Linked DNA regions of Homo sapiens: regions 2, 3 and 4 are each linked to region 1. Evidence: promoter capture Hi-C in 16 types of primary human blood cells and fetal thymus (Javierre and others, 2016). All regions are on one chromosome and are shown on one strand. Each heading gives the region's core, a stretch centred on a gene start or on the middle of the fragment in contact. The rest is flanking DNA. Distances are from core to core; before and after follow the strand shown.

Region 1 (6,488 bases), core at 3,255-5,754:
ACTGCAACCTCTGCCTCCTGGGTTCCGGCGATTCTCCTGCCTTAGCCTCCCAAGTAGCTGGGATTACAGGTACCTGCCACCATGTCCAGGCAATTTTTGTATTTTTAATAGGGGGTTTCACCATGTGGGCCAGGCTGGTCTTGAACTCCTGACCTCAAGTGATCCACCTGTACAGTATTTTTTTAAAAAGCCTATTCTCGTGGTATTTTATCCAAAATAAGGTGTTTTTCTAAATCTATTGTCTACATAGCTTAGACATTTTAATTTCAAAGTCGTTTTAAATAATTTTAGCGTACTTTCCAGTACTTTCACAATTTAAAAACTACAAACGTTAAAAATTCAACTTTTAGAGATCAAACATGGAAGTTTTTATATTCTTGCAAACATATAATATAAAAACTAATGCAGAGAAGAGTTGGCAAATGGGAGGAGGAGGAGAAAACCTTTAATCTTGTAATTGAGAATTTGCTTTTGTTGTAATTTCCTTTTTTGTCAAGTCATGCAACAGAAGCCACTATACATTTTTCCTTACCAAAATGTTTTTGGCCTTCTAGACCTAAATTTGTTTTAACTCTTCTGAGAGTAATAGGTGACCTCAAAAATCTAATTAAAGCTTTGAGCTCTGTCCCTGAAAAAGTACACAAAACACAAAATTCTGCATACACCTTCAGGGGTTTGAAGACTTCCTGATTCCAGTTTAAGAATCTCTGATACAATTAAGGAATTCTGCTCCATTGTTTTAGGTGTGATGATGATGATACTGTAGTTATGCTTTAAAAACAGATATACAGAAATACTTACAGTTAAGGTGTTATAACGTTTGAGGTTTGTTACAAAATGGTGAGAATACAAGATTGGCCATGAGTTAACAGTAGGTATGTAACAGAAACTTAGGCGTTCACTGTATTATTCTATTTTTGTAGGTTTAAAATTTTCCAGAATAAAAAGTATTAAGTATATATATATATTTTTTATGTGTGTGTGTATATCTACATACACATACACACATATCTATATACATATATATCTATATCTATATACACACATATATATATACAGATAGATAGGCTAGATAGACAGACAGACAGACAGATATCTCTCCACAAAGACTACTGAAGAAATTACACCATTAAAATACTTGGTTTCGATATGGCCAGATCACCAGAGTTCAGGCTTCTGCTGTTTGAAAACCCTTTCCAGCTACACTGGGTGACACCTGGGACACACAGGGTTGAACCCTCTATGGCACAGTCTGGCTGTCCATGTGGTCACATCCTGTCTTCCATGAACACTCCTTCCTTAAAAGCATACAGCCTGTGTATCCTACACTGAGCCTACCAGAGTGCTGAATAACACTCGCTGATCAAACATCAGAACTGCACTACATAGTCTATCAAATAAGAAGTGTCAAGAAGTCAGATTAAGGATCCACAATACTCTTCTGAAAAAAACAGGAACTTCATGTTCATTATATTTACCCTGCATCTTGACAAGGTCTTGCTAATGTGCCATGCTGAATAAACTATGAATCTAAATAAATTAGTTTCATATGTAAAATAATAATAAAAATTTTATCTGAACCGATGGCAATAGATCTATCTCTAAAAATCTGAGCTCCAAACATCAGGTTGGACAATATTTCAGACTATCCAGAAGTATTTATGCATTCAAGAGCACAGGATGGTAAAGAATTTTAAAATGCCACAGACGTGTTTTTGTTTTTGGTCATGTAAATCAGTCAAGTGCTTATCAAAATGTCAATATGCTAACTACAAACATAAATCCATTTCTATTTCAATTGCAGTTATAATACTGACATGCATAATACTTTATCTGAGTATGTTTCTACTTCAAATGATTTGATCAATGCCTATAGGTATTAAGAAATTCCTCTATAATCCTACTAAATTATACTTGCAGCATCCATAAAGAAAGGTAAGAACAGTCTGTAACATACCATATGCCACAAAAAAACTTACTTCCATCTTGTACTAAATGCTTTGTAGGATGTTCTCACTGGCAAGGCCAAAGGCTTCCCTTCTGCAAAAACTTGACAAGTAACATAAAGATCAGAGCATGTCTCTTGATATAGTCCTGAGAACTTCAACATTGGGTCTTCCAGGACAGCTTTATAACTCTTTTGTTCTCTCTTCCCTTCCAAGCTTCCTCTGAAAGCACAAGACCAACAATGTTTCAGACATGAATTTTTTAAGCATGTACATATATACATAAGTACTAAGCATGTACATATATGCTTTAAGCATGTACATATATGCATAAGTACTAAAAAGTTTACCTTTGTGTTAAGGTATGCTACCTAAACAACATTTTCCTGTATATGAAATTAATGTCATTTTTATATATGATAAGGGTTTCTTAAAATCCTAACATACCTAATATCAGTCCCATCTTCATCAACACATTTCTCTATTTTATACTTCTGAATTTTAAACGCTGCCATTGACCCTTGATCTACCCTCTGGAAGTCACCAGCTTTCTAGGCCTTGGTTTCATTTTCTTCATTTCAAGTTGACCACATATTCATCTATTCTTTCAGGAAACATTTACCATAGTGGACAAAGAAGCCCAGAAGAAAGAAAAGATAAGCAATACAGTATTACAATAAAATATTAAGTCATTGCTTCTGGGGAAAAAAATTTACTTTTAACTGCATGTTTTTATTCTACTCTTTCCATTTTTTTCTTTTACTATGCATATGCATTGTCTGATCATTTCTTTAAAACAGTGGTATAAGTCATAAATAGATATGCACAGGATACTATCACAGAGGGAGGAACATTTTTTAGACATCAAGATTACATCAGATACTGTGCCAGGCATTTTATATTTTCTTTCTTACATAATTTTCACCATATTCTCATTTTATAAATGAGGAAACAGAGACTTATAAACTAAACTCCTTATCCACAGTCACAACGTAAGTAACAGAGCTGAGAATAAACACTAGGGCAGGGAGGCCAAAGCCAATATTCTTCCCATTACAGTAAGATAAATCAGAGTCTCAAGAGTACTTAGGCTGGCATGGGGAAGGGACTTAGTACCCCAGATAGATGTCTGAAATGATCCTGAACAATGCATGAGAGTTGAAGCAAAAGAAGCAGAACGTCATCCCAAAGGGAAAGGAGACAGAGTGAGACCCTGTCTCCAAAAAAAAAAAAAAAAAAAAAAGGGACCGGTTTTTTTGGCTTTTTCTTTATTTTTAATGTTCAAACATTTCAAAAAATGCATTCATATATCCAAGAAATACTGAGCATCAAGCTGAAGGAAAGCCCTTTATCAATATTGATCCTGTATAAACTACTAGTGGTGTATGCTATGGAAAATACCTTAAATGAGTGTATAAAGTATCATACAAAGGTACAAGGTGGTTGTTGACATATTACTTTTACCACCACCACCACAAACTAAAAAGTAAAGTATTTGTCAGCGAATAAGGGACTTCTGAAAATAAAATGAAATGATCATTCAAAGGTACATCAGACAACTGAGAAAATTTATCTATCACTTACTGCAGGCCTTTGACCGACACATATTTGTTGAATATTAATTGAACATACACAAGAAATGTTTATTAATTATGGATGATGCTATGGTCAATAATTTGTGATAGCTTTGACAACACTCCTACATGACCACCTTAAAAGGGACATAATTTCCAACTCTGTCTTGTGCATCCCTCGTCATTATACCAGTTCTATTATCCTCATCTCAAGATATCACGCCCTTGACCTTTACTTCAGCCGTGGTGCCCCAACGTTTTCCTGCAAAGACTCTTTTCTCCTATCTTCTTGGTACCTTTGAAACTGGAACCCTCATCTTCGACTTACTCCCAACTTCCCTGACTAAACACTGCCATACTACCCAAAGATTCACTCTAGGCCTCTATCACCTCCCGTGCTAATACACCATGTGCTCATCTTATTCTCAACTATCGCATCTGCCTGTGTCTACCTCTCCATAATTTCTGAAGCCTTCATTCCACCCTACAAGCCCCGTTCCAAAATAAAGATCGTCCTCTTACTTACGACGAGACTTGATTTCTTAATTTACAATGAAATAGTAATAAACTCTCAAAAGGCTGAACAGCAAAAACTTTAAAGACTGTAAAATACAGCGGAACTTAAGGGCTATTCCTACTGCTGTGCTTCTCACGGAGACCACGTATTAAATCCTTTTCCAAAAGAGCCCCTCTCCACGATCCACTCTCTCGCGCCTCCCTGGCTACAGCCCTCACAGCCGCCCCCAATCTGGGCCTTGAGACGAGTCACGTACTTTCTGCCTCTCACTCCCAACAGGCCCCTGCCCCCACGTCCCTACGCCCCAGCAATCCCACTCCCTGTCCCGAGTGTTCTCTTACATCTTAAGCTGGACGTTGATATCCAGGTCACAACTATAGATGTAGTGAAACTTCTCTGCTTCCCCCATCGCACCGTCTGCAAAGGTACCACCTACAGCGGGAACTTAGGTACAGGAAAAACAACATAAATGAACCAGCTGAGCCCCACAACACGGAACTTCCGGTTCCGCCCCCGCCAGCAAGCCGCCAATCCACGCCCGGAGCGAGTTCCGACGCGGCGGAACTCCCCGCCGAAACAACCCTTCCGCGCATGTGCACAAGGCGCCCACCATCTTGCTTAAGGGCAAATGTATACGGGAAACGGCTAATCTGGTTACATTCCAGTTTTCCTGTCTTGACAGCACTTTTTTTTTTTTTTAAAGAAAAAGAGACGCTATCATTTGAGCTTGAGCTGTACCTAAAACAATACGAAAGAAAATTCAATTCAAAAAGAATTATAACAGCTTTCACTGGCTGCCGGCTAAACAGGTTACAAGCACAAAAATTGGAATTTTGCCAGGTTTAAATTCCAGTGGCCTTCCCAAAAAGTGTAGCACTAATTTGCTATCTCAAGCAAGGATTTTCTCTTTCTGCTCTAAAGAGTAGGGAAAGGACTAAATAGAGAATAAATAAATCTGGGTTTCATGTTTGGTGTTGTCAGTATTCATGCTACTTTGGACATAATACTTGCGTGCATGTTTAAACTGGGAATATTCAAATTCAATGTAGTTTCAAGCCCTAACCCAAGTTAGAATCTAGAGGCCTCCTGTAATAACTACAGAACACAGATCTCTAAACCCTCTGAGCTCCTATAATGTTTGTTTTTATAATTATTATAATCTAAAATTGTAATACTCCCTTCCAATTAGATTGAAAACTCTTGGAAGGTAAGACCAGTGTGCCATTTACTTCCGTGTCTTGCCCCGCTAGCTGTCTAATGCATTGCTGAGTTTAATACTTCCTACTTACTGGTTATTAATGATGATATTGAATGAAAGTCTCCATTTTCTATGCCTTTATTTCTTTTTTTTTTTTTTTTTTGAGATGGAGTTTTGCTATTGTCGCCCAGGCTGGCACCATCTCGGCTCACTGCAACCTCCATCTCCTGGGTTCAAGCGATTCTCCTGCATCAGCCTCCCAAGTAGCTGGGATTACAGGCACCCGCCACCCAGTCAGGCTAATTTTTGTATTTTTAATAGAGATGGGGTTTCACCATGTTGGCCAGTCGGGTCTCAAACTCCTAACCTCCAGTGATCTGCCTGCCCTGGCCTCCCAAACTGCTATGTCATTTCTTTTTTTTTTTTTTTTTTTTTTTTTGAGACAGAGTCGCTCTGTTGCCCAGGCTGGAGTGCCCGTCTCTCTGTTGCCCAGGCTGGAGTGCAGTGGCGCGATCTCGGCTCACTGCAAGCTTCACCTCCCAGGTTCATGCCATTCTCCTGCCTCAGCCCCCCAAGTAGCTGGGACTTCAGGTGCCCGCCGTCACGCGCGGCTAATTTTTTGTATTTTTTAGTAGAGTCAGGGTTTCACCGTGTTAGCCAGGATGGTCTCGATTTCCTGACCTCGTGATCCGCCCTCCTCGGCCTCCCAAAGTGCTGGGATTACAGGCGTGAGCCACCTCGCCCAGCCTATGTCTTTATTTCTAAGTGCTGCATTTTAAGACGGACATCACTAAAGTATGTGCAAAATGGCGTAATTAGAATGTTGAGGGATTAGAAAAAAAATATTTCCAAGAAAGGGTGAAAGGTGTGGAGCTGTTTAACCTGGAAAAGGAAAAAAAATGGCTAATGCAGAATGTTTTACACAAAATAAGTTCTCAAAAATATTTATGGAGGCAAGAAAAGGATTTGGGTAGAATAAAGAAAAACATGATAGTTATCCTCCTATAACTTAAAGTTTAAACAAAAAGAGCACCTTTGATTTGTTCCTAAGAATAACTGCCACCAATGGTTGGAACTTACAGGAAATGTAATTTCAACAAACAATACAAATTGAACTTTCTAATTATCACAGCCATTCAACAGTAACACTGTTGTCACAAGTACTCTGTTTAAGGCATAACTCCAGCAATGAGTGTGAGGTTTGATGTGAAACCTCAATCTTGAATAAAATATTGACAATGTGTAAAGGAGTA
Region 2 (6,706 bases), core at 2,891-5,390, 4.0 Mb before region 1:
AGGTGAGCCACCCACGTCGGCCTCCCAAAGTGCTGGGATTATAGGCGTGAGCCACCATGCCCGGCCCAGTTTTTGTTAAGTCTTCAAGTTATCTTTATACATACCTCAACATTATTTTTATAAATCTAATAGAGTTTCATAGTCATGTTCAAGGGGGAACCTTAACAATTCATCCACTCACATTCAACAGACCAAAGTCCCTTAAACAATTGGTCCCATCATCACTTAAATTCCTTCAAATGTTTTATACTACAGTATTAAATTCAAAATATTAATTTTTTTAATGTTGCCTGAACTGACCAACCAACCATTCTAACTACTTAAACCATCCTACTAAGGTCTAACAAATTTTTTTTTTTTTTTTTTTTTTTGAGACGGAGTCTCACTCTGTTGCCAGGCTGGAGTGCAGTGGCATGATCTCGGCTCACTGCAGCCTCCGCCTCCTAGATTCAAGCGATTCTCCCGCCTCAGCCTCCCGGGTAGCTGTGACTACAGGTGTGCACCCAGCCAATTTTTGTATTTTTAGTAGAGACGGGGTTTCACCATGTTGGCCAGGATGGTCTCGATCTCTTGACCTCGTGATCTGCCCGCCTTGGCTTCCCAAAGTGTTGGGATTACAGGCATGAGCCACTGCACCCAGCCACAAATTCAGTTTATAAATATGATAGATCTTAATTTCTCAGAGATATTCCATGATTATGTAAGCCGTATAAAATTATCTTATTTTTAACTAAAATATATGTAATCTAAAATCAGGTAGTAAAATACATATTTTAATTTGGAATCATAAGGTCTATATCCTTTAATTTGCCAAATTATCGTAACCAGTACAAGCACTTTAAATACAAAAAGATACAGTTTATTCCTAATTTAACACAAAAGGATTATGCTGTCAGCTTAAATTACTTTATCTGCTTTGTATTTGACTTTCCTGAGATGATACTTTACTTCCAGGAATTGGTTTACTTTTTTTTTTTTTTTGAGATGGAGTCTCGCTCTGTTGCCCAGGCTGGAGTGCAGTGGCGCCATCTTGGTTCACTGCAACCTCCGCCTCCTGGGTTCAAGCGATTCTCCTGCCTCAGCCTCCCAAGTAGCTGGAATTCCAGGTGTATGCCATGACGCTACGCTAATTTTGGTATTTTTTTAAGTAGAGATGGGGTTTCACCATGTTGGCCAGGCTGGTCTCCTGACCTCAAGTGATCTGCGCTGCTCTGCCTCCCAAAGTGCTGGGATAACAGGTGTGAACCACCACTGCCGGCCTGTTTACTTTTTCAAGCTACTGTCTCACAGGTTGGGTTTAGCAGCCCTGGGAACTCAGGTTGCTTATCAGTCAGTTGTCTGGCTGGGACATGAAATCCTTGACTGCATATGTTCGGGAACTTTTCTGAGCCCCTGCTCCCATTGTCCCTTTTAAAATTGTTGCTGTGGCAACAGAGACTTCAAGTCTATATCCTTCAAAAGGAGTAGTTTCAAAACCACCTTCTCGGTTCAAATTATATCATTACCTAACTGATTGTTGCTTTACCTTTTGTTTGGATTCTACTGAACTTGAATTGTCTGGCTGTTGGCCTCACTTTCTGAAATTAATCCAACGACAGATAACTTCGTGATGGAAAATGTAGGTCTCCTTAGTAGTTAGCCCTCTGCCAGGTGACTTCGTTTCCACCTCCCCTTATATATTGTTCTTCCTTCCTCTCTAAATTCTCTAAATCTCTGCTTATACAGAGCAATCTGGCTCTCTCTGGCCTCTCCAGTCATCATACATCATACTCACATTCACCATCTTGAGAAGTGCAGTAAGCCACATAAATGCAGCAGAAGTACCTTATGCAGTCCTAGGAGGCTGTGGTTTTGAGTTGCTTTTTTTTTTTTTTTGGAGACGGAGCCTTGCTCTGTCACCCAGGCTGGAGTGCAGTGGCACGATCTTGGCTCACTGCAGCCTCCACCTCCTGGGTTCAAGCAATTCTCCTGCCTTGGCCTCCCAAGTAGCTGGGACAAGTAGCTGGGACTACAGGCGCACGCTGCCAGGCCTGGCTAATTTTTTGTATTTTAGTAGAGATGGGGTTTTACTGTGTTGCCCAGGCTGGTCTCGAACTCCTGAACTCAGGCAATCCGCCTGCCTCGGTCTCCCAAAATGCTAGGATTATAGGTGTGAACCACTGTGCCAGGCTGAGGTGCTTTTTAAAGAACCTTCATTTCTTTCCTCCTTCTCCTCTTTCTCCCATCCTCCCTGATTAACCTCTTTTTTGTGTGGAACTCACCCCTGCCCTGGTGTCATCCCTTCATTCAGTCTTTCCAATGTATGCCTCTTTTACCAGTTAGGCGATGATACACGTATCACAATGTATCTATGCATTGTGTCTGCTTCCCAACTAAACTGTAAAACATGCAAATTGAGAGTAGGGTCAGTTGTGTTTTGCTGACCAAGTAGTGGGTAGCACATAGAGAACTTTAAATGTCATAAATGACTTAAACTGGGAGAGGTCAGAGAGCAAGGGTATTCCAGACTGGGAGAAATATCAGCAAAAGTTATGGATAGTAATGGTGGTATAAAGATTTTGTTTATATTGGCCAACTCTTTGCAGGTGATAACTTTATATACATGCACACACACACACACACACACACACACACACACACACCAGGACATACAAAGTACATGTATATTCTGAGTAGCTTAATAATTTTTGTTGTTGAGGATTTGGGAACAAAATACACGAAATTGTATTATATACTCAATTAAAATATCATCACAAACAAGCAAACTGCATCTCTGAAGTCTTTTCCATTTTTCATGCCATATTGCTGGATTTTTTATTCTAGGGTATGCTACAGGTGGGTGGATGGTCTTTTTCCTCCCTCCCATACACTCCATTTCCTTTTCTTCTTTTTCTTTTCTTTTCTTTTTTTTGAGATGGGAGTTTCGCTCTTGTTGCCCAGGCTGGAGGGCAATGGTGCGATCTCGGCTCACTGCAACCTCCGCCTCCCAGGTTCAATTCTCCTGCCTCAGCCTCCCGAGTAGCTGGAATTACAGGCGTCCACCACCATGCCCGGCGACTTTTTTGTATTTTTAGTAGAGTTGGGGTTTCACCATGTTGCCCAGGCTGGTCTTGAACTCCTGACCTCAGGTGATCCACCCGCCTCGGCCTCCCAGAGTGCTGGGATTACAGGCGTGAGCCACTGCGCCTGGCCCACTCCATTTCAACGATCTTACCCCACCGCCAGACAAAACTCATACTCATTTGTGTGATTCACGAAATATTTATTTAGTATCTACTATGTGCTACTACGTGCAGTGTTCTAAAGACCCTTGGATACATCAGGCAACAAAATTAAGAACCCTGCCTTTGAGGATCTTACATTCTGGGAGGATTGACAGACACTAACAATAAGGATACAAGCAAATCACAGAAATCCTAGAGCTGGGAAGGGAAGATGTGGACAAGTTTTTCACATCTGGAAATTTCAAATGAAGCACACTGTAAAATGTATACTAAGAATACTTTTACGGATCTTATTTATCTTGTTACCTGTTTGCCTGTCCTTTTAGGAGCACATGTCTTTTTTCCAGTCTGGGAATTTGTACAGTAATGATAATTAATAACTACCATGTACCGACATGCCTGCCGCTACCAGGCACCTTTCTGGGAGAGCCCATTAAATTCTCATGACATCCGAAAAGGCAGGTGTGATCATTCCCCTTTACAAAAGAGGACGCCGAAGTGCACACCCCGATGGGCGTCAGGGTTTCTTCCTTGCGCGCAGTGCGGATTTAGGCTAACCGACTGGATCTGGTTTATCTGAAGATGAAAAAAAAGAATGGCAAACCCACTTTCCGGATTTCTTCAAGCCGACGCGGGTGAGGTGTGCGAGCGCGCCCGGGATCCGCACTGAGTGAGGTTCCGCAGAGCCGGGAGACGGAGGAGGTGGGTCAGCCTGGGTCGCTGCCCTTGTCCAGCGCAACCCAAGACACCTGCGCGCCGGGTGGAGCCAGGGCTAGGGGTGGGGCCTGGGCTCCGGGAAGGGGGCGGGCCTGCCTTCCTCCAGTGCAAATGCGTCCTGGAGTGGTTTGTCCTACGTTGCGGCCCGTAGAGGCGCCGACTCACCGCCTCTTCTCCGGGAGTGGCGGAGATTCGATCATGTGACAGTCCGGAGGCCAGAACCGGGCAGGTTGCTTGAAGCGCAGGGGTTTGACAAAAACAAACGGTGACGGCGCCGCGGAAGGGTCTATGGCCGAGGCGGTGAAGCCCCAGCGCCGGGCCAAGGCCAAGGCCAGCCGGACTAAAACAAAGGTGAGGATCTCCCCCACCCTCCCGAGGCTCTGGCAGTGTGCTGTGTCTCCTTGCTCCTCTCTTCGGCCTCCCCAGCCAATTCTACTCCCGTTCCCTGAGCCCTCTGCATCTTCCGCCTCCACCTTCCAATATTTGATCCCACCACCCGTTGACACCGGCCCTTCTCCTCCATTCCTTCTCCATATCCCCCTGCCACACTCTGTCAGGACCCCATTTTTCCTTCTCCCTCCTGTGACTTCACTGGCCTCTTCCTTTTCTGCTCTCTTGGCTTTCCTCACCTGGGTCTGGTTTCCTGCCGTGAAATAATTTTTCTCTTTCCAGCCCCATCGTTGACTCTCTCTTTACTCTTTTATATCCTAGAACATTTTTAGTCCCTGCCATGCATAAAGAGGGAATGTTCCCCTCCTCCACGCGGAGAAGGTACCTTTGGCAGAACTTTATAAGTAGACTAGTGCTGTGCCATTTCTGATCACTTTGAAAGTTCAAGATGATAGTAGTGCTGCCTCTGTTTATTTCTTATTGTCTTGATTGTTTATAAGGGGCATGAATGGCTAGAAATTAACCCAGGGCGGGACTCACACAGTAGGGAAGTGTTTGAATTTTCTGAGTTTCCTGTATTAGACTACATGTGGTATTAGAGTGATTTTAAGTTGATTTGTTTATAAGTGCAGTCTGGATTTTCATTTTATTATAGTACATATATACACATATATACATATGTACACATATATACATATATACGTACATATATACATATGTGTGTGTGTATATATATGTATATGTATTTTTTTTTTTTTTTTTGAGACAGAGTCTTGCTCTGTCGCCCAGGCCGGAGTGCAGTGGCGCGATCTCGGCTCACTGCAAGCTCCGCCTCCCAGGTTCACGCCATTCTCCTGCCTCAGCCTCCCTCCCGAGTAGCTGGGACTACAGGCGCCTGCCACCACGCCCGGCTAATTTTTTGTATTTTTAGTAGAGACGGGGTTTCACCGTGTTAGCCAGGATGGTCTCGATCTCCTGACCTCGTGATCCGCCCGCCTCGGCCTCCCAAAGTGCTGAGATTACAGGCGTGAGCCACCGCGCCCAGCCTATGTTTTGTTTTGTTTTTGTTTTTGTTTTGATATGGAGTCTCGCTCTGTCGTCCAGGCTGGAGTGCAATCTCGGCGGAGTGCAATCTCGGCTCACCGCAACCTCCGCCTCCCGGGTTCAAGCGACTCTCCTGCCTCAGCCTCCCGAGTAACTGGGATTACAGGCATGCGCCACCACACACGGCTAATTTTGTATTTTTAGTAGAGACGGGGTTTCTCCTTGTTGGTCAGGCTGGCCTCAAACTCCTGACCTCAGGTGATCCGCCCATCTTGGCCTCCCAAAGTGCCCGGATTACAGGCGTGAGCCACCGCGCCCACCCTATTTATATATATTTTCTAAGATGAACAGATTAAATGCTGCTCCCGCATGGCCAGACCTCATAATTTTGGCTTACCTGAAACAGAGTTTACATTTGGGAAATAAGGAGGATGGTATTACAAGTACAGGACATTTTTTTCCCCAGAAGTGGGTGATGTTCCAAAGCAGGTGTAATTTAAGCATGATACTGTAATCCGATTTTCTCATGGGAACAAGGTTTTAACAGGAGGGTAGTGTTCATAGGTACCATACTTAGTAGACTGTAGATGACTTATGTGGATTTCTTTCATTATGATGCTCTTTTTTTTTCTTTCCAACTTTTATTTTAGGTTTAGAGGGTACAAGTGGAGGTTTACTACATGGGCAAATGCACACCTTGGTGGTTTAGTGTGCAGATTATTTTGTCACCCAGGTAATGAGTATAGTGCTTGACAGGTGGTTTTTTTATCCTTCCCTTCTTCCCACCTTCTGCCCTCAAGTAGGCCCTGGTGTCTATTATTCCCTTCTTTGTGTCCATGTGTACTTAATGTTTAGCTCCCACTTATAAGTGAGAACGTGGTATTTGATTTTCTGTTTCTGCATTAATTTGCTTAGGATAATTACCTCTAACTGCATCCATGTTGCTGCAGGGGACACGATTTTGTTCTTTTTTATGGCTGCATAGTATTCCATGCTGAGTATTTACCACGTTTTCTTGATATGACTTTTTAAACGGCTGTAGTGGAGTTAGACACATTGGTGTATCCAGGTCTGTGAGGAGTTATTCTGGTGAGAAAGTCATTTTGGTACCAAATTTCAGGAATTTTATTTATTTATTTTGAGACAGAGTTTCGCTTTTGTTGCCCAGGCTGGAGTGCAGTGGCGCGATCTCTGCTCACCACAACGTCTGCCACCTGGCTTCAAGCAATTCTCCTGCCTCAGCCTCCCGAGTAGCTGGGATTACAGGCTGGGTAATTTTTGTATTGTTAGTGGAGATGAGGTTTCACCATGTTGGTCAGGCTGGTCTCGAA
Region 3 (6,993 bases), core at 1,013-3,512, 4.2 Mb before region 1:
CAAACTTTAGAAAGAAGAATACTGAAATTGCCTATTTATCAAGTCTGTTCATGCACGTGTCAAAAAAAGCTGTAAGATTGGGAATCCCAACAAAACAACTTCTTGTATAATGAGTAACTACAGAAGCGCACAGAATTTACTAGTCACACAATAAAGAGACTGAAAGTACCAATATCACTATTAATATTAGAAGCAAGAAACCTTTGAAGGACACGCATTAGCCCTCAGTTCTAATGGAACTGCATTAAATTAGAACCTAAAGCTGAATTTATCTTTACTATATGGGTTTTGAATTAATCATAACCATAAAACAAAGAGTATTATGACAGTTACTCTCACATAAATGCATGTTAAATATAAAGTGAATAAGTAACAACTACACGGTGAACTTATTCTAACAATGGAGAAAGTTTCCAGCTCCAATATCCAGTCCATCCTATTTTCCACAAAAAGTTGTCAGAAAAAATTTTTTTTCCCATTAAGAAATCTGATTCAGTCCAGGCGCCACGGCTCACGCCTGTAATCCCAGCACTTTGGGAAGCCAAGGCGGGCAGATCACGAGGTCAGGAGGTCAAGACCAGCTTGGCCAACGTGGTAAAACCCCGTCTCTACTAAAAATACAAAAATTAGCTGGGCGTGGTGGCGCGTGCCCGTAATCCCAGCTACTCGGGAGGCTGAGGCAGGATAACTGCTTGAACCATGTGTTTTTTTTTTTTTTGTCCTGAGACTCCTCAGGACATCAGGCAGTAACTATCAATTGTAGGCCTCTAAAAATGCTTGTTAAACCAAAAGGCAATGCTCTGATTACTGGAGGAATCTAGATTGCCAAGATCAGCAAAACTACATTAGAAAGTTAATAGCTTCCATCCTTAAAATATCCCAAGAGAAGAAAGGGAGTGATTCTGTTAGCATGTACCCAATACTACACAATAAAAGCCTAAGCAAAATTGGCAGATGTTTTTGTAATTAAGAGGTCCAACCTTGACGAAGTATCATCAGTAGGATTTTAATTCTACTGGGTAAGAGGATTCAGAAAGCAAAAGGTCAGGCAAAAAACGAAAAACCCATCCAAACAGAAACTGCTCAAGGATCTGGTAGGGCTCGTACCGATGTTCTCTACTTCAACCTGTGAGCATCAATTTTGTGATGGGGGCTGCCGGGGACGGGGGTCGGGGCGGGGGGGTGGACAATTTTAAAGTGAGAATGAATGGCTTGCGTAAAGGCGATAGTCTTTAACACGGGTTCGTCAGTGTACATCCTCGCCGGTTTTGAAATAAAGTTGACAAACTCCCCAGAAGCGGTCTATTTTGGAGACTGACACATCTCTCGCATTGACTGGAGGCGCCTGCCGACCGAAGGTAGTGGAAGCGCCGAGAGGCAGGCGGCGCCAAGCCTATAAGAAAGCCTTTTCTCCCTCCACCAAGGCCACTGCGGCCGCGGCGCCGGAGCTCTCCGCTGCAGGGGCAGGTGTCGGCGCCAGACCCCCTACTCTCGGAGCTGGCGGAGTTGCCGCCACTGCTTCCCCCGCGGGCCTAGGAGCCGGAAAGTTGCGTGAAGACAACTCCAGGGCCGTGAAGTCGCTTCCCCCCGCAGCCCGGGGACTGCGGCACCTCCAGCCTCCCCTCAGCACCCCCGGAAAAGGACTCGCCTCAACCCGGCCCCAGCGTCTGGGGGCTTGGAGTGCCGGAGCCAACTCCGCCGGGCCGGGAGGACGCTAGGGTCACCAACGGCGGACGAGCAAGGAGGTCGGAGAGGTGCGATGCCCCAGCGTCAGCCGGCAATCCAGGCTGCGAGTTCCCGGCGCCCACCAGCCAGGCCCGCTAGGACCCCAGCGTCCGGACGCCGCAGAGCCCTCACCGCGGCCCGCAGCCCTCCGATTCGCCCCGACCCCTCCCTGGGACGCAACCCGGGCCCCCCAACTCGACCAGTAGCCAGGCCGCGGCCCTGCGCCCCTTCCCGCCTCACCTGCGCTCCGCGGCGACTCCGTGCCTTCTCGCTCGCTTCGCGCGCGCCCCGTCGGGGCACGCACCGAACCCCCGGCCGGGACTCTTCCCCGCTGCGGTGACTCAGGACGCGACGGCCACCGCCGCCTTCTCCTCCTCGGAACAAGCCCCGGCAGCGAGCAGTGGGTCGCGGTCAGAGCCCCTGCCGGGACCAAAGTGAACCTCGCCGCCTCCGCAGCCTCTACCACCAAGTCCCTTCAGTCGTCCGCGCCGCCCCCAAGAAAATGTCACCAGAGGCCGTTCCGCTGGGCGCCTCACTTCCGCCCGGAAACACAGAGCCCGCGTCGGCCGGCTAGAGAGGCAGCTGCGCCGGAGACCTCTGGAGACTGGCGCCCGAGGCCCGAGAAAAGCCAGACAGCGCCATCTGGCGCGATGGAACCCGCGCTCCTCCCGCTGCAGACCGCGGGGCGTGAAGGCGCCGGCTCCCCGGGCTTCTTTCCCGCGCTCCCTCCTTCTGTTGAGACCGTCACCTTCCCGAAATGTCTTTCCCGGGGGGTGGGAAAGCCACTCAATGCAAGCCAAGGACAATGCCTTCAGCAAAGGACAGCGCTCCCTTTTCTGTGCGCTGCTCAGTACTCACCCCCTCCTGAAGCCCTTCCGAAAGCAGCTTGCGGTGTCTGAATCCCAGAGTCGCTCCAGCGGAGAGCCCGTGCCCTTCTCTCCCCGCTTTTTCGCGGATGCCGATAGCTGGGCTCGGGGAGACTCGGCTGAGCTCTTCTCGGGCAGCGGCACCAATATCTGCTCAAGTTTCTGTCCGGGCACCTTGCAGGCCTTGCAGATCGACCGCCACCTGCTGGTGGGACGTGGCCCGCTGGGGAGACCCCGCTCTGCCCCGAATTCCGCCTCTGCAGTCGCCCTCCGATTTGCAGTCAGCCCTGGGGAGGGTGGGGGAAACGAGGTGGACCCGAACCCCGAAGAAGGGGAGGAGGGCGCAGGCCCACTGGCGGGTGGAGCGTTTCCCAAGGAGGAGCAGGAGATGCTGAAGACATATCTCAAGACTCAAGATCTGGCCAAGGACCCGCGCTCCCCCAAAGCAAAGCAGTGTTTTGAGAAGAAAAATAATAATAATAAAGCTTTGAGGAGGAAAATGTAAACGGTCTTTACCTTTACAGAGCTGTGCTGGAACCTCGGATGAGACCCGTCAAGAGGAGATTCTGAAAATCTCACACCACTGGGTCCGCACTCCCCTAAATATCAGTCTCCCCCTTCAGACCAGGCCCCTTAGTTCCCCCACTTCACTCATTTTTTCTGACTGCCTACAGGAGTGCGAGTTTTTCATCCCCAACTACAAGAATAAATTAAGAAAAGAAAATAATTTTATTATACCAGGCACCTTGCATTTAAATGGGTTAAATCCACTGAATCCTCATTACAACTCATAACAACCCTATGAGTTGGATGGCGTTACTAGTCCCAAATTGCAAAGGTGGAAACTGAGGGACAGAGTGACCTGCCCAAGATGACACATCCAAGTAAGTGGCAGTGTTGGATTCCAACACAGGCAGAGCTTACTTTCTTAACCACAGCCACCAACTGCCTCACTGAGAATCACAGAGAACGTAGTGTGTGCTAGCTAAGTAGTTTATCCGTGTATGTTATTTCACTCGTTCATTCATTTATTTACTTTCTGCTACCTGAGTCCTCAAGGGATTTGAGAGGTTATGGGGTAGTGACAAGAGCCCAGCCTATTTCAGGAAAAAAAGAAAAGAAAAGGAAAAATCACACTAAGATCACAACTTTCAGTCTGGAAATGAATGAATGTGGACTAATACATTGAGTTTTTAAAAGATTCCTTGACAGTCTGATCTAATCAATGCTGCAGAAATACTGAAGTAGGACCCTGACTACTGAGATACCATCTTGGGTCCTTCTCCTGTTTTTTGTTTTTTGTTTTTTGCTTTGTGGTTGTTGTTTCTTTGTTTTTTGTTTGGTTGGTTGGTTTTGGTTTTTTGGTTTTTTTCTTGAGACAGAGTCTTGCTCTGTCGCCCAGGCTGGAGTTCAGTGGCGCGATCTTGACTCACTGCAATCTCTGCCCCCCGAGTTCAAGCGATTCTCCTGCCTCAGCCTCCCGAGTAGCTGGGATTACAGGTGCACGCCACCACACCCAGCTAATTTTTTGGTTTTTTAGTAGAGACGGGGTTTCACCATGTTGGCCAGGCTAGTCTCAAACTCCTGACCTCAGGTTATCCACCCACCTCAGCCTCCCAAAGTGCTGGGATTACAGGTGTAAGCCAGCGCACCCAGCCCCTTCTCCTGTTTAATACCAATAAGTCAATTTCCTACGTCGAATGGCCTTTGTATATTTTTGGAGGCTAGGGCATTTGATATCCTAATTACTAATATTTTTATTACTACTATATTTCCATTATTAAATGGTACAGTTACTTGCTTCTTCCCCTTCTTCTGTAGGAGCAGAAGGGATCCTACTTCTGCCTCAAAGTCTTCTGTGTATCCAATACTTAGCTCTACAAGCTCCTGAAATGCCATCTCTCCCATAAAACCAGCTCAGCCCAGACACAACCCCCGTCACCACTACCCTTATTACCCCCTCCATCCTGGCCTTCCACTGTGGGTCAGGACTCCCCTGCTCACACACACTCTCCTACAAACATGTCTGCCCTTGGTCTATCTGTAGGGTTACTACTAAACCATATTCGTCATCCTCTCAACTTCTGTCATAGCCCTAGAGGCCAGAGCCAAGCCTGTCAGAATCACTCTTCACCATCATTTTTTGCACCTGATATACCGCCTAGCCTGGGGCTAAGCCTGCAGCAGGTACCTGCCAGCTGTGGTGGCCTGGACAGTAGCATCAGGGCGTGGCTGGTCTGGCTTTGACTGTAACCTGATCTCTCCTGACTGAGCAGGTTACTTCTACCATTTGCCCTGTAAAATGGACACAATTATGAGAACCACTCTAGAGATGATGAAAGTAGGGGGAGACGAGGGGAGGGAACCCTCATTTCTGGGCTCTGGGCTGCCCCCTCCCTTCCATCTCAGATTGCTAAGAATTGGGCAACCTAAGGCCAGGCGTGGTGGCTCACGCCTGTAATCCTAGCACACTGGGAGGCCAAGGTGGGCGGATCACCTGAGGTCGGGAGTTCAAGACCAGCCTGGCCAACATGGTGAAACTCCATCTCTACTAAAAAAAAAAAATACAGGCCGGGCACGGTGGCTCACGCCTATAATCCCAGCACTTTGGGAGGTTGAGGCGGGCAGATCACCTGAGGTCAGGAATTCAAGACCAACCTGGGCCGGGCGCGGTGGCTCACGCCTGTAATCCCAGCACTTTGGGAGGCCGAGGCGGGTGGATCATGAGGTCAGGAGATCGAGACCATCCTGGCTAACAAGGTGAAACCCCGTCTCTACTAAAAATACAAAAAATTAGCCGGGCACGGTGGCGGGCGCCTGTAGTCCCAGCTACTCGGGAGGCTGAGGCAGGAGAATGGCGTGAACCCGGGAGGCAGAGCTTGCAGTGAGCCGAGATTGCGCCACTGCAGTCCGCAGTCCGGCCTGGGCGACAGAGCGAGACTCCGTCTCAAAAAAAAAAAAAAAAAAAAAAAAAAAAAAAGACCAACCTGGCCAACATGGTGAAACCCCGTCTCTACTAAAAATACAAAAAATTAGCCAGGTGTGGTGGTGCACACCTGTAATCCCAGCTACTCCGGAAGCTGAGACAGGAGAATCACTTGAACCCTGGAGATGGAGGTTGCAGTGAGCCAAGACTGTGCCACTGCACTCTAGCCTGGGTGGCAGAGCGAGACTCTGTCTCAAAAAAAAAAAAAAAAAAAAAGAAAAGGCTGGGCACTGTGGCTCATGCCTGTAATCCCAGCACTTTGGGAAGCCGAGGCGGGCGGGTCATGAGGTCAGGAGTTTGAGACCAGCCTGGCCAACGTGGTGAAACCCCGTCTCTACTAAAAATACAAAAACAAATTATCCAGGCATGGTGGCAGGCACCTGTAGTCCCAGCTACTCAGGAGGCTGAGGCAGAAGAATCACTTGAACCCAGGAGGCGGAGCTTGCAGTGAGCCCAGATCACGCCACTGAACTCCAGCCTGGGCGTCAGAGCGAGACTCTGTCTCAAAAAAAAAATTAGCCGGGTGTTGTGGTGCACTCCTGTAGTCCCAGCTACTCGGGAGGCTGAAGCAGGAGAATCGCTTGAACCTGGGAGGCGGAGGTTGCAGTGAGCTGAAATTGTGCCACTGCACTCCAGCGAGACTCCGACTCAAAAAGAAGAAGGGGCAACCTGGCCTCCCTCAACGTAACCACCCACCCCCACCATAGCCAGCACCCACTAGGATCGCCCAGGACCTGCTAGAAGGCAGTGGCCTCTGGGGAAATGCTGACCTTCTGCACAATAGTAGCCACAGAACCTCAGACAAGTCACCGCTTCCAGGGTTAACATGACTCGCTCTGCCTCACAGCGTCATTCCATAGGATTAAATGGCCTCCTCCAACACAAGGACATCCAGAAGCATTCTAAGGACTCTGAGTAGTGGAAGATCAGACAGTTGTCAGGACCAGGGGCTCTGGGGTTTGACAGATGTGACATTGGACTGAGTTCCACCTCTCTAGCAGAGTGACCCTCAGGCAGTTATGTAACCTCACTGAGCCCCATTGTCCTCGCCTGCCAGACATGGATGACCCCCCAGTACTCCCTTGCAGGCTCTGGAGGAGTGAGGGTAGAATGACTCATGATTTCAGCTCTCAGCTCCATGCTCGGCTCAGACAGAATGCTCTAGAAAGAGGCTGCCGCTCTGATGGCAGCACTCCAGGCCAGCACCTTCTAGGCCACAGACTCTCAGTGGTCAAATACAGTGAAATTTCCATCTCAACAGACTCATTTTTCCAGAGCAGCAGGTTCACGTGGAACCAGAATGGAACAGTGCAGAAGGATACCATGAAAGTGTAGCCAAGGGTGACTGGGAGGGGGCCCCCTTTCCCCCACAAACCTCTAGCTCCCCACCCTGGTTCTCTGGGCTGGCCAATTAAG
Region 4 (6,776 bases), core at 1,560-4,059, 4.1 Mb before region 1:
AGGAGTGGCACAGGGGAGGTTTTTGGGGTGATGGAACTGTTCTGCATCTTGATTGTGTGATTTCAGATTGTGAGAGTGGTTCTACACTCTAAGTGTATTAAAATGGTACACAAAAATAAAAAGTCAATTTTACTGTATGTTAATTTTTAATTAATTAATTAATTAATTTTTTTTTGTTGTTGAGAGAGTCTCACTCTGTTGCCCAGGCTGGAGTGCAGTGGTGTGATATCTGCTCACTTCAGCCTCCACCTCCCGGGTTCAAGAATTTCTCCCGCCTCAGCCTCCCAAGTAGCTGGGATTACAGGCACATACCACCACACCTGGCTAATTTTTGTATTTTTAGTAGAGACGGGGTTTTACCATCTTGGCCAGGCTTGTCTCAAACTCCTGGTCTCAAGTGATCCGCCCACCTTGGCCTCCCAAAGTGCTGGGATTACAGGCGTGAGCCACTGCACCTGGCCCTGCTGTATATTAACTTTTAAAAGAAAACTGGAAAAAAGCACATATGCAATAGAATCAAATATAAACTGCACTATATTCAAAATATCATATGTAACAAATACCATACATCTGATTAAATATAGGGCAAATGCAGGCCTCACTTCCTCTCTTTGGTGTATTCTCGTATCTAAAAAGATTTTTGTCAATCTTTACTTTTGTGGTTTGTATTATCAAAACAATAGGCATCTTGAATGCACTTTTTCTTTTTTTCTTTTTTTTTTTTTGAGACGGAGTCTTGCTCTGTCGCCCAGGCTGGAGTGCAGTGGTGCGATCTCGGCTCACTGCAAGCTCCGCCTCCTGGGATCACGCCATTCTCCGGCCTCAGCCTTCCGAGCAGCTGGAACTACAGGCGCCCGCCACCACGCCCGGCTAATTTTTGTATTTTTAGTAGAGACGGTGTTTCACCGTGTTAGCCAGGATGGTCTTGATCTCCTGACCTTGTGATCCGCCCGCCTCGGCCTCCCAAAGTGCTGGGATTACAGGCGTAAGCCACCGTGCCCGGCCTTGAATGCACTTTTTCAAACTATATATGCCCAGCAGAAAATTCTAATGCAATCTCCTGATACGTAGTCATAGAGTAATTTCGTCCAAGTCTCACATTTCATGGCCACCACCTCAGGTGTCCTGATAGGTCCGTATGACTAAATCATGGAGACCGGAAACAGAAAAAACAGATAGGTAAGTAAAAAACCACAAGGCATCTTGTGTGTCAGACTAACAAGTTTAGACTCTTTTAAGGCTTACTGTTTTGCTATCAGAGTACCAATAAGATATTTAGTATAATAACATTTATTACTTAGAGAATTACTACTGGCCAGGCAGGGTGGCTCATGCCTCTAATCCTACCACTTTGGGAGGCTGAGGCAGGCGGATCACCTGAAGTCAGGAGTTCGAGACCAGCCTGGCCAATATTGTGAAACCCTGTCTTTACTAAAACACAAAAATTAGCCGGGTGTGGTGGTGCAGGCCTGTAGTCCCAGCTACTTGGGAGGCTGAGGCATGAGAATCACTTGAACCCAGGAGATGGAGGTTGCAGTGAGCTGAGATCACACCACTGCACTCCAGCCTGGGCGACAGAGCAAGATTGTCTAAAATATATACACACACACACACACACACACACACACACACACACACACACATACATATACATATATATAAACATAAAACAATAAAGTTACTACTATAACAGAGTGGAAGAAAATCTGGGAAAAATAAAGGAGCAAAACAAGTAGTCTACAGTAAATTAATCCTGTATACTTTAGTGTTATAAAATTTGGTTACCTCTATTTATTCTCGTTCAAAACTCTGGACTTAATCTCACCTTCTGACTCGTATTCACTTGCTTTCTGCTTCAAGTCCTCTATTACCAGGTAGACATCCCTGTCCCGGACCCTGTTGCGTTCTGAAAGGTGATGTAAAATCTCTGTGGTCCGTGGGTTCACCTCATACTGTGGAATAGGATGATCTCCAAATATTTTTTTTAACCACGCAGCAACCTAACCATTAAAAGAAAGACAAATATTATAAGCCTTGTTTACTGTAATGGCTCGATGAGAATATGACAAAGAAGTGATCAAAAGCAAACTAAATGCTTTCTGTGACTATTTTGGAGTCCTACTTCACAACCTCACTTGTCTTTAGGGAGATACTAGATATCAGGAAATAAAAAGTGAGCAAGTACACAAAGAAACGTACAATACTGAAAATTACCAGAGAACAATCCGTTCTTTTCCAAATCTGCAAAAGCGGTACAGGCTAACAATTTGCCTCGCTTGAAAAACCTTAAAGCTTAATAGACCATAATAATGCGAACGCATTATTAGACCGTGCATGGTCTGAAAAAAGCAATTGTCCCTCGATCACCAGAAGCCCCGCCGCGCCGGGAGGCTCCCAGTGTTGGGATGCAGGGCGCGGAAGCAGTTCAGATGTGGAAGCCGCCGGGCTGAGCAGCGAACCGGAAGGCGGGTTTGGCTTCATAAGTCCCACTCCAGAGTCTGTGGACACGGGCTGCTCAACGCCTCTCCCGGGCCAGATCCAAACAAGGGGAGGCCCGGGCAGGAAGGGAAAGGCCTTCAGGAGAGTCTAAGCACGGGGGGCTTGCAGATAGTGACGGCGGCACTAAAAGACGGATGTGTGGAATAGGGGAGAGAAAAGTAGACGTGGCGCGCACAGGAGACCCGCTGTCGGCGCGGGGGTGTCAAAAACGCGTTTTCCAGGAGGCCAACGATCCCCATTCCCGCCCCATCACCTGCGTTTCTCTCTCCTCCTGCGGCTCCATAGCTGCGGCTCCCGCCACTTTACTAGGAACTCCTAGCGGGAGATGCGCCCCGCTCACTCCCTAGGCCCCGCCCACACGCCGTTGGCACCCGCCCCTCGCCGGGCCCGGGATTTCTGGGAGTTGTGGTTTTACCTGAGACTCCTGGCCGTTGAGCCCCTGTGCAAGGCTGGTCGAAGGCTCTGGCATTGCAAGCCTCGCTTCGTTGCCACTTCCCAGCTCTTCCCGCCTTCCGCGGTATAATCAACACTACGAGAGATAGAGCCGCCTAGAACCAGGTTGTTTTTTCTTTCTTTTATTTTTATTTCTTGTTTGAATCACTTGTCGTTAAAAAAAAGTACTTGAAACGTTTGGTTCTTGCTTAGCAAGATGTTTGTGTTTCTTCCACATTGATTGCATCCACTCAGAATTTATATTCTACCCTGGCAATATGAGCTGAGGCAATCTTAACTTGATCCGTTAGTTCCCCCAACCTAAAAACTAGGGACATTTTTTTTTTTTGAGACAGAGTCTCGCTTTGTCGCCCAGGCTGGAGTGCAGTGGCATGATCTCGGCTCACTGCAACCTCTGCCTCCTGGGTTCAAGCGATTCTTCTGTCTCAGCCTCCCAAGTAGCTGGGACTACGGGCAAGCGCCACCACGCCTGGCTAATTTTTGTGTTTTTAGTAGAGACGGGGTTTCACCATATTGGCCAGGCTGGTCTCGAACTCCTAACCTCATGATCCGCCCACCTCGGCCTCCCAAAGTGCTGGGATTACAGGCGTGAGCCAGCGCGCCCAGCTTTTTTTTTTTTTTTTTTTTTTTTGAGATGGAGTCTCTGTTGTTCAGGCTGGAGGGCAGTGGCACGATCTCGGCTCTCGGCTCTCAGCTCACTGCCACCTCTGCTTCCCGGGTTCAAGCGATTCTCCTGCCTCAGCCTTCCGAGTAGCTGGGATTACAGGTGTGCATCACCACGCCCAGCTAATTTTTTGTATCTTAGTAAAGATGGGATCTCATCAGGTTGGCCAGCTTGGTCTCGAACTCCTGACTTCAGGTGATCCGCCCGCCTTGGCCTCCCAAAGTGCTGGGATTACAGGCACTGCGCCCGACCTTTTCTTTTCTTTTTGAGATGGAGTGTTTCTCTGTCGCTTAGGCTGGAGTGCAGAGTGACATGATCTTGGCTCACTGCGACCTCCAACCCCCGTCCCCAGGCTCAAGCAATTCTCCTGTCTCATCCTCTCTAGTAGCTGGGATTACAGGCTTGTGCTAGCATGCAGGGATAATTTTTTTATTTTTAGTAGAACGGGGGGTTTCACCACGTTGATCAGGCTGGTCTCAAACTCCTGACCTCAAGTGATCTGCCTGCCTCGGCCTCTCAAAGAGCTAGGATTACAGGTGTGAGCCAACACACCCAGCCTAAAATGATTTTCTTTTCAAAGGAAACTTACTAGCAAGCCAAGCTTATTTATTATTTATTTTATTTTATTTTTAGAGACAGGGTCTTGCTCTTTCGTCCAAGCTGGAGTATAGTGGTGATCACAGTTCACTGCAACCTTGAACTCCTGGGCTCAAGCAATCCTCCCGCTTCAGCCTCCTTAGTAGCTGGGACTATAGGCGTGCACCACCACACCCAGCTAACTTTTTGTATTTTTTGTAGAAAGAGGGTCTCACTATGTTGCCCAGGCTGTTTTTGAACTCCTGGCCCCAAGTGATGCTCCCACTTGGGCCTCTCAAAGTGCTGGGATTACAAGCATGAGGCACCACACCCAGCCTGTCTTGCTTATTCTTTTTGCTTCAAACATATCTCTGCTCTGGCTGGATGCGGTGCCTCACACCTATATTCTCAGCACTTTGGGAGGCCGAGGCAGGTGGATCACCTGAGGTCCGGAGTTCAAGACCAGCCTGACCAACATGGCAAAACCCCATCTCTACTAAAAATACAAAAATTAGCCAGGCATGGTGGCACGTGCCTGTAATCCCAGCCACTTGGGAGGCTGAGGCAAGAGAATCACTTGAACCCTGGAGGCAGAGTTTGCAGTGAGCTGAGATTGAGACACTGCACTCCAGCCTGGGCGACAGAGTGAGAATCCACCACAAAAAACAAAAAAAAACAAAAACTAAATATATCTCTGCTCTGTAACCAAATTTCAGATAAACTGGTGCAGCCCTTCAGTATGGGGCAAAAAAAGTTATCTTTATGTCTTTTGTCCACTTTTATCACTACAAATTTTACAAAATATCCCTGCAATTTTTTTTTTTTTTTGAGAGGGAGTCTTGTGCTGTTGCCTAGGCTGGAGTGCAGTTGAGCAATCTCGGCTTACTGCAAGCTCCGCCTCCCGGGTTCACGCCATTCTCCTGCCTCAGCCTCCCGAGTAGCTGGGACTACAGGTGCCCGCCACCACACCCGGCTAATTTTTTGTACTTTTAGTAGAGACAGGGTTTCACCATGTTAGCCAGGATGGTCTCGATCTCCTGACCTCGTGATCCGCCCACCTCAGCCTCCCAACGTGCTGGGATTACAGGCATGAGCCACCATGCCCGGCCTTTTTTTTTTTTTCAGACAGAATCTCACTGTGTTGCCCAAGCTGGAGTGCAGTGGTCACTGCAACCTCCATCTCCCAGGTTTAAGTGATTCTCGTGCCTCAGCCTCCTAAATAGCTGGGATTACAGGCATGTGCCACCATGCCCAGCTAAAGATGGGGCAGGGGGTGCAGGGATCTCGATATGTTGGCCAGACTCATCTTGAACTCCTGACTTCAAGTGATCAACCTGCTTCAGCCTCCCAAAGTGCTGGGATTACAGGTGTGAGCCACCATGCCGGCTAATTTTGTTGTTATTGTTGTTGTTGTTTTGAGATAGTCTCACTCCTGTCGCGCATACTGAAGTGCAGAGGCGCAATCTTGGCTCACTGCAACCTCCACCTGGCTCACTGCAACCTTCACCTCCTGGATTCAAGCGATTCTCCTTCCTCAGCCTCCTGAGTAGCTGGGGTTACAGGTGTGCACCACCACCCCCAGCTAATTTTTGATTTTTTAGTAGAGACGGGGTTTTGCCATGTTGGCCAGGCTGGTCTTGAACTCCTGACCTCAGGCGATCTGCCTGCCTTGGCCTCCCAATGTGCTAGGATTACATGCGTGAGCCACCATGCCCGGCCTTGTTGTTTTTAGAAACGATATTTTTTCCTGTTAGCTTGTGAAAGTTGATTGGGTCATTCTTGTCATCCCCAACTAAAACAGTGTCAAGAGGTAAAGGGAAAAAAAAGCACTCAGGGCACATAACATTGCTCCAAAAATGTAATTATCTGTAAGCCTGGCTGCTGAAACTGCCCGCTATAACCTAAACCAGTTTTTTTGTTTGTTTGTTTTGAGATGGAGTCTCACTCTGTCGCCCAGGCTGGAATGCAATGGCATGATTTTGGCTCACTGCAACCTCTGCCTCCAGGTTCATGTGATTCTCCTGCCTCAGCCTCCCAAGTAGCTGGGATTACAGGCACCCGCCAACATACCCAGCCAATTTTTGTATTTTTAGCAGAGACGGGGTTTCATCATGTTGGTCAGGCTGGTCTTGAACTCCTGACCTCAGGTGATCCACCCGCCTCGGCCTCCCAAAGCGCTGGGATTACAGGCGTGAGCCACCGTGCCCGGCTGACCTAAACCAGTTTTATCTAATTAGCTGCTAAAAACAACCTGCAGTGACTCTAAGGATCGTTTTACCTAGTTGCCATTACTTGCCAATCAAAACTTGCCAGCTCCCCAAAACCTTACTAGTGACAATGAACTTTCTTAAAGAACAATATACAACAGTTCTCTTTTTTTGTTGTTTGTTTTGATATAGGGTCTTGCTTTGTTGCCCAGGCTGGAGTGTTCCGGTGTGATCACAGCTCACTGCACTCCCAAACTCCTGGGCTCAAGTGAACCTCTCATCTTGGCTTCCCAACGTGTTGGGATTACAGGCATGAGCCACTGTTCCTGGCTATATTTCTCTTTTACAAAAATAAAACCTCTAACCATCTGTTTGTT

The links. The method cuts DNA at HindIII sites, captures the fragments that hold promoters and counts their contacts. A CHiCAGO score of 5 or more calls a contact.
Region 2: the fragment with the promoter of EPG5 here is called in contact with the fragment with the promoter of PIK3C3 in region 1 in 1 of 17 cell types (total B cells); the score reaches 6.3 in total B cells.
Region 3: a contact is called between the fragment with the promoter of ARK2N here and the fragment with the promoter of PIK3C3 in region 1, in 1 of 17 cell types (total B cells). The highest score is 5.5, in total B cells.
Region 4: the fragment with the promoter of HAUS1 here is called in contact with the fragment with the promoter of PIK3C3 in region 1 in 1 of 17 cell types (total B cells); the score reaches 5.4 in total B cells.

What each region holds. Positions count from the first base shown.
Region 1 is chr18:41,953,250-41,959,737 of GRCh38, reverse strand. PIK3C3 (phosphatidylinositol 3-kinase catalytic subunit type 3) reads right to left here and starts at 4,504. Exons shown (of 25, transcript NM_002647.4): 1 at 4,379-4,504; 2 at 1,980-2,168. The coding sequence starts at 4,446. RefSeq lists an enhancer at 4,547-4,726. The HindIII fragment of the contact is 3,603 bases long and covers 2,165-5,767 here.
Region 2 is chr18:45,964,763-45,971,468 of GRCh38, reverse strand. It overlaps EPG5 (ectopic P-granules 5 autophagy tethering factor), which reads left to right and starts at 4,140. Exons shown (of 44, transcript NM_020964.3): 1 at 4,140-4,292. The coding sequence starts at 4,230. RefSeq lists an enhancer at 3,880-4,381. The HindIII fragment of the contact is 12,390 bases long and covers 1-6,706 here.
Region 3 is chr18:46,169,303-46,176,295 of GRCh38, reverse strand. It overlaps ARK2N (arkadia (RNF111) N-terminal like PKA signaling regulator 2N), which reads right to left and starts at 2,262. Exons shown (of 5, transcript NM_145055.5): 1 at 1,966-2,262. RefSeq lists enhancers at 1,249-1,378, 1,979-2,028, 2,059-2,318, 2,639-2,688. The HindIII fragment of the contact is 7,725 bases long and covers 1-3,078 here.
Region 4 is chr18:46,100,418-46,107,193 of GRCh38, reverse strand. HAUS1 (HAUS augmin like complex subunit 1) reads right to left here and starts at 2,809. Exons shown (of 9, transcript NM_138443.4): 1 at 2,753-2,809; 2 at 1,826-2,000. The coding sequence starts at 2,782. It also overlaps a transcript of ATP5F1A not described here. RefSeq lists an enhancer at 2,405-2,494 and a silencer at 2,885-2,984. The HindIII fragment of the contact is 1,925 bases long and covers 2,295-4,219 here.